Regions from separate parts of the Homo sapiens genome. Here all the other regions are linked to region 2. The links are contacts of gene promoters, found by promoter capture Hi-C in blood cells and fetal thymus (Javierre and others, 2016). All regions are on one chromosome and are shown on one strand. Each heading gives the region's core, a stretch centred on a gene start or on the middle of the fragment in contact. The rest is flanking DNA. Distances are from core to core; before and after follow the strand shown.

Region 1 (3,423 bases), core at 470-2,969, 200 kb before region 2:
ATGAATTTGACTGTTGAGGTTGGCCCCTCATTCCATGATCCTTTGGGCACTAAATTACACATATCACTCATAGTGGAGGTTGGAATCTAATGTCTCAATATCTAGCAAGTTGAACTTAGAAAATGTTATACAGCAGAAAGAACAAGGCTGGGCGCAGTAGCTCACTCCTGTAATCCTAGTACTTTGGAAGGCCAAGGCATGAGGATCACTTGAGCCCAGCAGTTTAAGACCAGCCTGGGCAACATGTTAAGACACTGTTTCTACAAAAATAAAAAACAAATTGTTTTAGTTAGCCAGGCATGTAGTCCCAGCTACTCGGGAGACTCAGGCAGGAAGATCCCTTAAGCCCAAGAATTTGAGGCTGCAGTGAGCCATGACTGCACCACCACACTCCACCCTGGGCAACCTCATGTCTGAAAAAAAGAAAAACAAAGCCAGAGGCATTACATTACCAGACTTCAAACTATACTACAAAGCTACAGCAACCAAAACAGCATGGTACTGGTACATAGGCCAATAGGCCAATGGAACAGAATAGAGAACCCAGAAATGAAGCCACACACCTGATCAGTCACCTTATCTTCTGCAAAGAAGTAAACAATAACAAGCAAAGGGGAAAGGACTCCCTATACATAAATGGTGCTGGGATAGCTGGCTAGCCATATGCAGAAGAATGAAACTGGACCCCTGCCATTTACCGTACATAAAAATTAATTCAAGATAGATTAAAGACTTGAATATAAGACCACAAACTGTAAGAATGCTGGAAGAAAAACTGCAAAACACCATTCTGGACATCAGCCTTGGGAAATAGTTTTTTATTAAGCCCTCAATAGCAATTGCAACAAAAACAAAAGTGACAAGTGAGACCTAATTAAACTAAGGAGCCTCTGTACAGCAAAAGAAACTATCAACAAAGGAAACTGATAGCCTACAGAATGGGATAAAATATTTACAACCTATGCATCTGACAAAGGTCTAATATCCAGAATCTACAAGGAACTTAAACAATTCAACAAGCAAACAACAAATAACTCCATTAAAAAGTGGGCAAAAGACATGAACAGACATGTCTCAAAAGAAGACACACAAGCAATCAAGAAACATATGAAAAAATGCTCCACAACACTAATCAGAGAAATGCAAATCAAAACCACAATGAGATTCCATCTCACACCAGTCAGAATGGCTATTATTAAAAAGACAAAAAATAACAGATGCTGGTAAGGCTACAGAGAAAAGGGAATGCTTATATGCTGTCGGTGGGAATGTAAATTAGTTCAGCCACTGTGGAAAGTAATTTGGAGATTTCTCAAAGAGCTTAAAACAGAACTACCATTCAATCCAGCAGTCCCATTACTGGTATATATCCAAAAGAAAATAAATCATTCAATCAAAAGGACACATGCACTTATATGTTCATCGCTGCACTATTCACAATAGCAAAGACATGGAATCAACCTAGATGCCCATCAGTGGTGGATTGGATAAAGAAAATGTGATACATGTACACCATGGAATACTACACAACCATAAAAAATAAAATCATGTCCTTTGCAGCAACATGGATGCAGCTAGAGGCCACTTCTACTATCCTAAGCATATTAATGCAGGAACAGAAAATTCTAATATCCTAAGCATATTAACACATGAACGGATAATCAAATACCACACGTTCTCACATATAAGTGGGAGCTAAATATTGGGTACTCATGGACATAAAGATGAGAACGACAGACATAGAGGACAAATAGAGGGAGGAGGGAGGAAGGGGGTTGAAACACTAACTGTTGGGTACCATGCTCACTACATAGGTGACAGGATCATTCATATCCCAAATCTCAGCATTATGCAATATACCATTGTAACAAACTTGCACATGTGCCCCCTGAATCTAAAATAAAAGTTGAAATTATTTAAAAAAAAAAAAAATGTGGCCAGGCACGGTGGCTCACCCCTGTAATCCCAGCATTTTGGGAGTCCAAGGCAGGAGGATCACCTGAGGCCAGGAATTAGAGACCAGCTGGCCAATGTGATGAAATCCCATCTGTACTAAAAATACAAAAATTAGCCAGGTGTGAGGCAGGCGCCTGTAATCCCAGCTACTCGGGAGGCTGAGGCAGGAGAATCGCTTGAACCCAAGAGGCAGAGGTTGCAGTGAGTCAAGTTTGTGCCATTGCACTCCAGCCTGGGCAACAAGAGCAAACTGTCTCAAAAAAAAAAAAGAAAAGAAAATGTTATTGCAAGCATAAAAGAAAAATGGGAGGGTTATAGTTTGCCATGAAGCACATTCTCAAGCGTAGTTTATTAACCGCTCTAATGAGCTCATTAGTACCCAAAAGTCTACTTGCTCTTAAGGCGATAGAAAGAAAAACAGATTACTTTTTGATGCATTTTGTATTCTAAATTCTTCCATGAACTTTATTTAGCCTTGACTAACAATATATTTTCTTCAGATCGTATTCATACAGAAAGCTCACTTGGAGGAAAAAGAACATTTTCCTTTTCATATAACACTTATCATCAATAAATAGTGTCTAATATGGAAACAACTGGAATCTGAACACTTCAGAAACTGCAGAGGAGGTGATAGGGTGTGTAAAAGCATGAATGTTAAGGGAAAAAAAGGGCTTAGCAAGATCTCTTGTAAGGATCTTCCATTTGCAGAAGTGACAATAATGTTTGTTGATGCTTTGAGCTGCATATGAATATTTCTTTTTATCAAAAGATAACATTAAAACTCTTCATTCTAATGTTCTAGTTGTAAATAGAATGTCTGAATGGAAAATAAATAAATAAGGTAAAGTAAAAACTGAAGAACTTTAGACCTTCTCATTTTATAGTAAGAAGTTTCAGAAAGACCTTATGTTTTTGATGAGGAGACCTGCCACTCCTCACTAGAAAATGGCCCACTTGCTCATGACCGTGACATTGAGCCACACCTTTTCTGCACTAGGCACAGGGCCAAGGGCTTTATTCATTATCCGATTAAATCTTCACAATAGCTCTAAGGGATGAACACCATTTTATTCCCTTCCACAAAAGGAAACTGGAGTTTAGAGAGGTTCAGAAGTGGTTGCACAACTAGTTAGTGGCTCAGATAAAACTTACACGGGTCTTTCTGAGCCAAAAGCTCATGCATCGTCCCCACTATTGGCAGCCTTATAACCAATGTCATCACTCATTCTGCACACTCAAATGACTTCAACCATTTACAAATATGGAGACATATTTTAATGGCATTTACTTGGCAAAAGTGTAACCCAACAGAGCTGTTGCATGCAACGGGTAAGTCAATGCAGTTTTTAAAAATGTGTTAAAAGATCAGTATATCGTGAGGTGCCAGAAAATGTATTTAATTGTTTTTTAATTTTTATTTATTTATTTTGAAAATTTTTGTAGAGACAGGGTCTTCCCCTGTTG
Region 2 (3,341 bases), core at 467-2,966:
GACACAAAAAAATAGCCTGCTTCCATTATTTAAGTCAAACCTTCCAGACAATTAACTACACATAATGAAATGCTAAATTCACAGCCTGCCTGAACCAAAATATTAGTGACACAAATCTTTACGACCACAAAATTTTTCAACATATAAAATGCAACTGAATAAGGTAATGTGAAATAAGTTTTCAACAATGTTCTCGAAGAAACTTCAATCAAACAATAAAAACAGCTTCAATTCCCCCCCAAAATATATACACCTACTGTGTACCCAAAAAAGTTATAATTTTAAGAAATTTTTTGAAGCTTCAATCAAATAAAAATAAAGAACATCACAATCATGAATAAAATCTAAAACTCCACTTTGATGTCTGTAGCAGTGTGCAATCTGCATTCAAATGAATCAATCCGAAATGTCATATACACTTAATATTGTGAAACTAAAATAAATGAAATCTAATGAGGTCAAAAGCTGTTGGAAGATTTCATCTTCAAATAGCATATCATCAACTGTATGGCAACATGTGAACGACTTTTACTGTTCTAGCAAGTTGCATATATTCCACAACCTCACAGAAATCTTGTCATCAAAAGTAGGTAACAAGCTAAAAAAAACCTCAAATACATAATGGGAATAAACCGAGTTGGAGATTTTTTTTTAATCCGTAGGTACAGATACTACAACCTTCAATTAATTCACCAAAATCCTAACATAGTTGTTACTTTAATTACCAAAATATGTCAAGTCCCACCCCATATCCCTGAGTCCCCAGAGAACAGTTTATATACATAGACTCTAAATCTTTTTATTTTGGTCACGGACCCCCATTAAATTTTTGAGCATTTGAAATGCCCCCGAAAATCGCTCGTACATCATATTTTACATACACGGGCAGATAATTCATTAAGTTTCTTGGGGAGAGAGAAAGGTGAGGGGGAAGCGTCCATGGTCACTAAGTCCAGACCCCTGGTGTCGAGAAAGCGTTAACGTATCTCACAGCACAAGTCGGGAGACCTCGGCCAAGTCCCGCGGCGGCCCTGGGACCCCGCGTGGGACCATGGCTTGCGACCAGGTCGCCGCCCAGACGTGTACCGACGCGTGCACCCGCCGTCGGCCGCTCGCCCCACCTCGCCGGTAAACAGCAACTCCCCCGGCAGGAGGACGCCCGCCCCGCGCGCCGCCTCCGCCTCCCCCAGCGCCGCGCACCATTTTCTGAGAGGAAGTGTCGGGAGGCCGAGCTGGGCTCCCCGGACTCGGGGCGCGGAGGGCGGACCTCGGCACCGCGGCCGGACCGGGCTTTCCTCTGCTCCCGGGTGTGTCGAGTAAGGCTAGGAAGCAGCGGACGTGTCCGGGGCGCCGCGTGGGGAAAGGAGAGCCTGCGGCGGACGGCAACTCCGCGATTCCGGGATCCCCACCGAGACGCCCGGAAGCCCCGCCGTCGGGCTTGGCCGGGGCCGCTCCTCCGGCCGCCGGCGCCGCGCACTGCTCCCCAGCCCTTACGCGTCCCGCGGAGAGCCGGGTGGAAGCGGCGCCAAGGCAACCCGGTGCGGCCGCCGCGCCGCCTAGTACTTACCCATCCATGGCCCAGATGGAGGCGCGCACAGAGCAGGGACTGACGGGCTAACCGCGAGCAGAGGAAGCAGGCGGCGGCAGCAGGGCGGTTCCGGGGACAAGCGAGCTTTGGCTCTGCGGAGCCCCGGCCGGTCCGAGGTGGAAGGAGAGTGGGAACAGGGGCGGGGACCGGGCACGCTCCCGCCACCGCCGCGCCCCCGCCTTCCCCACCCCGCGAGCGCGTCCCCGCCTAGCCCGACCCCGCCCCCTCACCGTCCCCGCCCTCCCTCGGGGCCCGCCCCTGCGCTCGCGCCCACCCTCGCCCCGCTGGCAGCCGGCCTCCGGCTCAGCTCTGGGGCGCCCTCTTCCCGCGGTCGCTGTAAGACCCCGCCTCTCGGCCCCTCGGCCCGGCGCGCGCGCGCGCCCCCAGCCTCCCTCCTGCGTTCGCGGGAGCGCGCGCCTTGTGCTTCCCGCTCCGCCGCGCACCCCGCCCGCCCTCCCGCGGCCCCGCGGGCCTTCCGGCTTCGCAGACCGGGCCTGCCAGGTTTGAATGCCTCCCTCTGCCGGCAGGAAAAGCTATGGGGACCTGACTCCCAAGAGTAGGAAGGAATGTCCCACAAGGACCCCAGAAACGAGGTGGAATTGCCCCGGGTGCGCGAGGCTGTAGATGACACGTCCAGGGACCAGCCTCTGGCAGCCCGGCGCTGGAGTCGACCGCTGGGACCGACACCAGCCCCATAGGTGTGGCTGGGACGATGAATGAGGTGAAAGAGGCTGCCCGGACTGGAATTTGTATACAATTTAAGTATCTGAGTGCATTTCGACCTAACCGTCTAGTATTGAATTTATATGAAAAATTCATTGTACAAACATGGAATGGCTATATTCCCAGCATTTTTTAAAAGTTTACTCATTATTCCCTTTTTTCAGATGAAAATACATATACAAAGAGAGTGATTTGCTCACAGTTTCACAACCAGGAAACGTTTGCACCAGAGCCCTTCCCTCTGGTCTGAGCAAAAAGTATATATATAATATAACGAGTGACAACACGCTTGCTTTTTTCCCTTTTTAGTGAGAAATTGAGTACTTTTTCAACTCACAGATCACCAAAATGTAACCCCCTAAACTGTTAAGCCAAATTCTTAACCTACTGAGTAAAAAAGAGCGGGGCTCCTCCCCGTGGCTTCGTCATTTGAAAAGCAACTAACAAGAACCTCAAACATCTATCCTTGCTAATTTCCTGCTTTCAGATCAGTAGGTGCTGCTAAAAAGATCTAAACTGTGGACTCATTCATCATTCAGTCAGTATTAACCTACTATGTGCCGGGCACTGCATGAATACACAAGAAAATCAGGTTCCAGCCGTCACTGTTGAATGGATTCTTCAGTCCGTTTATGTATATTTTTGACATACAACTTTTCAAATAGGTAGAGTAATTCGGTGAGGTAATTCTTAAAGTCCTGTATCTAACCTCAGTCCCCTTCCAAAATGTCAAATACATTTTGTTTTGTATATTAAATCTAAATATTAAGTTGCATTTGTAAACATTGCCAGATGGAAATGTAGAATATCAACAAGATAAGTAGCTGATGCAGTCTTTCTATCACTGTATTTGGGATATATTCTGTTGATGAAATTTCCTTAACCCTTTTTTTAGCTACACAAGTAATATCAGCATAAATGCTCATTTTGGAAAATTCAAGCACTATAAAATATTGAAAAGTTATCATTAATATTTTTCTTCCCAAACCACCCCCTGCCCATGACTACCACTGTAACAATTCTGCGTGCA
Region 3 (3,647 bases), core at 296-2,795, 150 kb before region 2:
ATCTTGCTAGTTCTCCTTTGAGATCAACAACTTACTGAGTCCTCCATTAATCAATTGAATAGAATCTTAGATATGTTTTCATCTTATAGTTGCATAAGTCATGTTTTCAACTTTTTGAAAATTATATTTCAGGACAATCCATCTTACTCTATATTCCACATTAGATTGCTTGACTTTCATCAATTCTTTTCATTGGCTCATTTTTAAATTTCAAATACATATTTTTGGTTAAAACAATACTTCTTACTCAATGGTGAGTTCATTGGATCACATAATGAAAAATTATCTCCTCATCCAACAGTATTTGTCACAAGAATTAAAACAGAATCTTGAACCAGTGTTAAGTTTGGAGGAACAGTGGGATTATTGCTGACAAAGTATTTGACTTAAGAAAAATGTTCTTTCAAGAGAGCATGGTTAATATACCAGCATTTTCTAAAAAAGAACTTGAAAGAAGCTTTCTTCTCCTTCTCCCTCTCCTCCATTTCCTCCTCATTCTTCTTCTTCTTTCTTTGAGACAGGAGGATCTCACTGTGTCACCCAGGGTGGAGTTCAGTGGTGCAATCATGGCTCACTGCAGCCTTGACCTCCCAAGCTCAAGCGATCCCTCCACCTCAACCTCCCAAGTAGCTGGGACTACAAGCACATGCCACCATGTCCAGCTAATTTTTTAAAAAAAATGTAGAGACAGGGTCTTGCTGTGTTGCCCAGGCTAGTCTTGAACTATTGGCCTCAAGGGATCCTCCCGCTTCAGCCTCCCAAAGTTCTGGGATTGCAGTTGTGAGCCACTATGCCTGGCTGAGACTTAGTGTTTAGTGGGTATCGACTTTCAGTTTTGCAAGATGAAAAAAGTTCTGTGGATGGATAGTGGTGGTGATTGCACAACAATGTGAATGGACCTAACACTGAACTGTACACTTAAAAATGTTTGTTTGTTTGTTTGTTTTTGAGACAGAGTCTCACTCTTGTTGCCCAAGCTGGAGTCCAATGGCATTATCTCGGCTCACTGCAACCTCTGCCTCCCGAGTTCAAGCGATTCTCCTGCCTCAGCCTCCCAAGTAGCTGGGATTCCAGGCACATGCCACCACGCCTAGCTAATTTTGTACTTTTAGTAGAGACGGGGATTCACCATGTTGGTCAGGCTGTTCTCAAACTCCTGACCTCAAATGATCCACCCACCTCGGCCTCCCAAAGTCCTGGGATTATAGGCATAAGCCACCACACCCAGCCTTAAAAATGTTTAAAATTGGCTGGACGCAGTGGCTCACACCTGTAATCCCAGCACTTTGGGAGGCCGAGGCAGGTGGATCACGGCGTCAGGAGATCGAGACCATCCTGGCTAACACGGTGAAACCCCGTCTCTACTAAAAATATAAAAAAGTAGCTAGGCGTGGTGGCAGGCGCCTGTAGTCCCAGCTACTCTGGGGCTGAGGCAGGAGAATGGCGAGAACCCGGGAGGCAGAGGTTGCAGTGAGCCGAGATCGCGCCACTGCACTCCAGCCTGGGTGACAGAGCAAGACTCCATCTCAAAAAAAAAAAAAAAAAAAAGTTTAAAATCGTTTTTAAAAATTCAATGACAAAAAACGTTTATGCCCATTTTTATTTTTATTTTATCAAATAGGCAAATATTAAGGACTTTCCAAATTAGTTTTGGTTCTGGCAAATCTATATGGGATCAGGTTTACAAGAAAGATATCTTGGAAAGCCCCATTTTTCCCAATATTCCTGAGACATAAGTGAATGGGATTTCGGGAGAGCTCTGAGAGGACTCTGGAGAGCCATGGGTATGGGAAGGCAGAGGGCAGGCAAAAAATTTCATTCTGAACACTGGTTCAGTATCTCTAGGGAGATTTTCCCCCAAGCTGCTCTTCTCAGTGTCGGATTCCAGTGTGAAGAGGTTTGGGGTTTGTCCAGTGGGTTCCCATCTGGCTACAAGGCCAGAAGGAGAATCGAGGAGGGAGATTGGATACTAAATATCCTGGGACTCTCCTGGAAAAAAATCCATTCTTGCTTACCACACTCCTGACCATAAATGATTACAGAGACTGCTTTGGGACAGCTCCTGGCAGGCTTGCAAATTGTTATTTTTGTTTTTAATTTAATTTATTTATTTAGAGACAGAGTCTTGCTCTGTCGCCCAGGCTGGAATGCAGTGGCGTGATCACAGCTCACTGCAACTTTCAACTTCTGGGCAAAAGCAATCCTCCCTCCCCAGCCTCCCATAAATTGTAAATAAATTGTTTATATGTGGGTTTTTTAGGAATGGCTTGAATATCTAATTGTAATGAGTTTAATATACTCTGGGGTTGCACTTACTGCCTGAAGTTTGCATTAACAGAAATAATTTAAATATTTGAAGCCTTTGAAGTATATTGGCTGAAAACTTGTGTGTTTGAAACAAAGTAACAGTCCCTCTGTAACAGTCTGCTCCACCCCCACCTCATCTAACCCTGGCTGACTCGACATCTGTGAAAACCCCAAGGCCACCTTCAAAGAAGCCACATTACCCCTCCCAGAATGGAGTCATCATCTCAAGCAGATTTGTAAAGGCTGATAAGAAGGACCTGTCCCTCTGGAGAAATGCCCTTCTGATGAAGTCTCTAACTCAAACAAAGGCCAACTTCTCATTTTTTGAAGCTTAATGACTCTCAGATACTTTGCTGCTATTGGAGAAACAGTAGGATTACTCTGCCTTCTCCAGCATACCTCTCCCTCCCTTTAGACACACACATACATCAAACACCCTACCTGGAGTTAGTGTGTAGACCTTGGGCAACAAGTGCACTATTGTCTGCTGCACGTGGCTGTGCTACAACCAGTGTGTAATTTACCCAAAACGCTAGTATTCTCAGAAAAGCAAAACAAGCATGGGTGGAAAGGGACAGCTCAGCTTAGGGGACAAGTCCTGGACTCCCTATTTTTACAATAGTGCTCTCTCTCCTCACTGTAATGGACTCAAGAGACCCTGTGATCCCCCCAGCAGAAGCTGGGGCAGCAGCAAGATTTAGATTTGGACTTGGATTTGGGAGCAAACTTCAGACACTGCAACAGACAAGTTCAAGGAGCAGCAGGCTTAGTATTCACCTATCCTCCCCCGACCTCAGGTGGTGGAGACAACACCAAGTGAGACAGGCTGTGTCACCCAGTCTCTGTCTCTGTCACACACACACACACACACACACACACACACACACACAGCATCACCTTCCTCACTTGCAAAAGCCTCAGCTGTTGGTGTTTTTATTCCACAAACCCTGAAAGGAAGCCTGCTGACAGCCCATTTCCGGACCCAGGATCAGCCACCCACAGCCCTAAGGAGAAGCAGGCCAGGCAGTGGGGACCAAATCAGCAATGAGCAGCACAGTCGCTGAGGAAGCCACAACAGCTGTGAAGGCGGATGGTTCCAGACCTTCACTGATAGAGAGACCAGCTCACAGTGAAGACCCGTATCATCGACCTGGGCAAATAGTGCAATCTTCAAAACAAAAATACTTTACTCAATTATTTTGCAATGGACTTAGCTACAAGCTCTATTGGTTTCTTTGCTCGCCACTGTTTTTCATGTCCTATGTCTTCCTCTTTTCCCACTTCTCCTCCTCCTTCACCTTCTTTGGGGACGTCTTTGAGTATCTGTTTCAGAAAGTATT

The links. Contacts are between HindIII fragments. The CHiCAGO score rates a contact against its expected background, and 5 or more counts as called.
Region 1: a contact is called between a fragment that was not itself captured here and the fragment with the promoter of PTBP3 in region 2, in 1 of 17 cell types (megakaryocytes). The highest score is 8.3, in megakaryocytes.
Region 3: a contact is called between a fragment that was not itself captured here and the fragment with the promoter of PTBP3 in region 2, in 5 of 17 cell types (megakaryocytes, fetal thymus, erythroblasts and 2 more). The highest score is 19.3, in megakaryocytes.

Annotation. Positions count from the first base shown.
Region 1 is chr9:112,132,851-112,136,273 of GRCh38, forward strand. All of the region lies in intron 5 of SUSD1 (sushi domain containing 1), which reads right to left. Among named protein-coding and RNA genes, the nearest start is that of SUSD1, 41 kb to the right of the region's middle. The HindIII fragment of the contact is 4,334 bases long and covers 1-3,423 here.
Region 2 is chr9:112,331,903-112,335,243 of GRCh38, forward strand. It overlaps PTBP3 (polypyrimidine tract binding protein 3), which reads right to left and starts at 1,717. Exons shown (of 14, transcript NM_001163788.4): 1 at 1,568-1,717. RefSeq lists silencers at 1,082-1,571, 1,722-2,041 and an enhancer at 1,791-2,761. The HindIII fragment of the contact is 11,957 bases long and covers 298-3,341 here.
Region 3 is chr9:112,177,998-112,181,644 of GRCh38, forward strand. No RefSeq gene overlaps it. Among named protein-coding and RNA genes, the nearest start is that of SUSD1, 4.5 kb to the left of the region's middle. RefSeq lists an enhancer at 3,052-3,201. The HindIII fragment of the contact is 2,180 bases long and covers 456-2,635 here.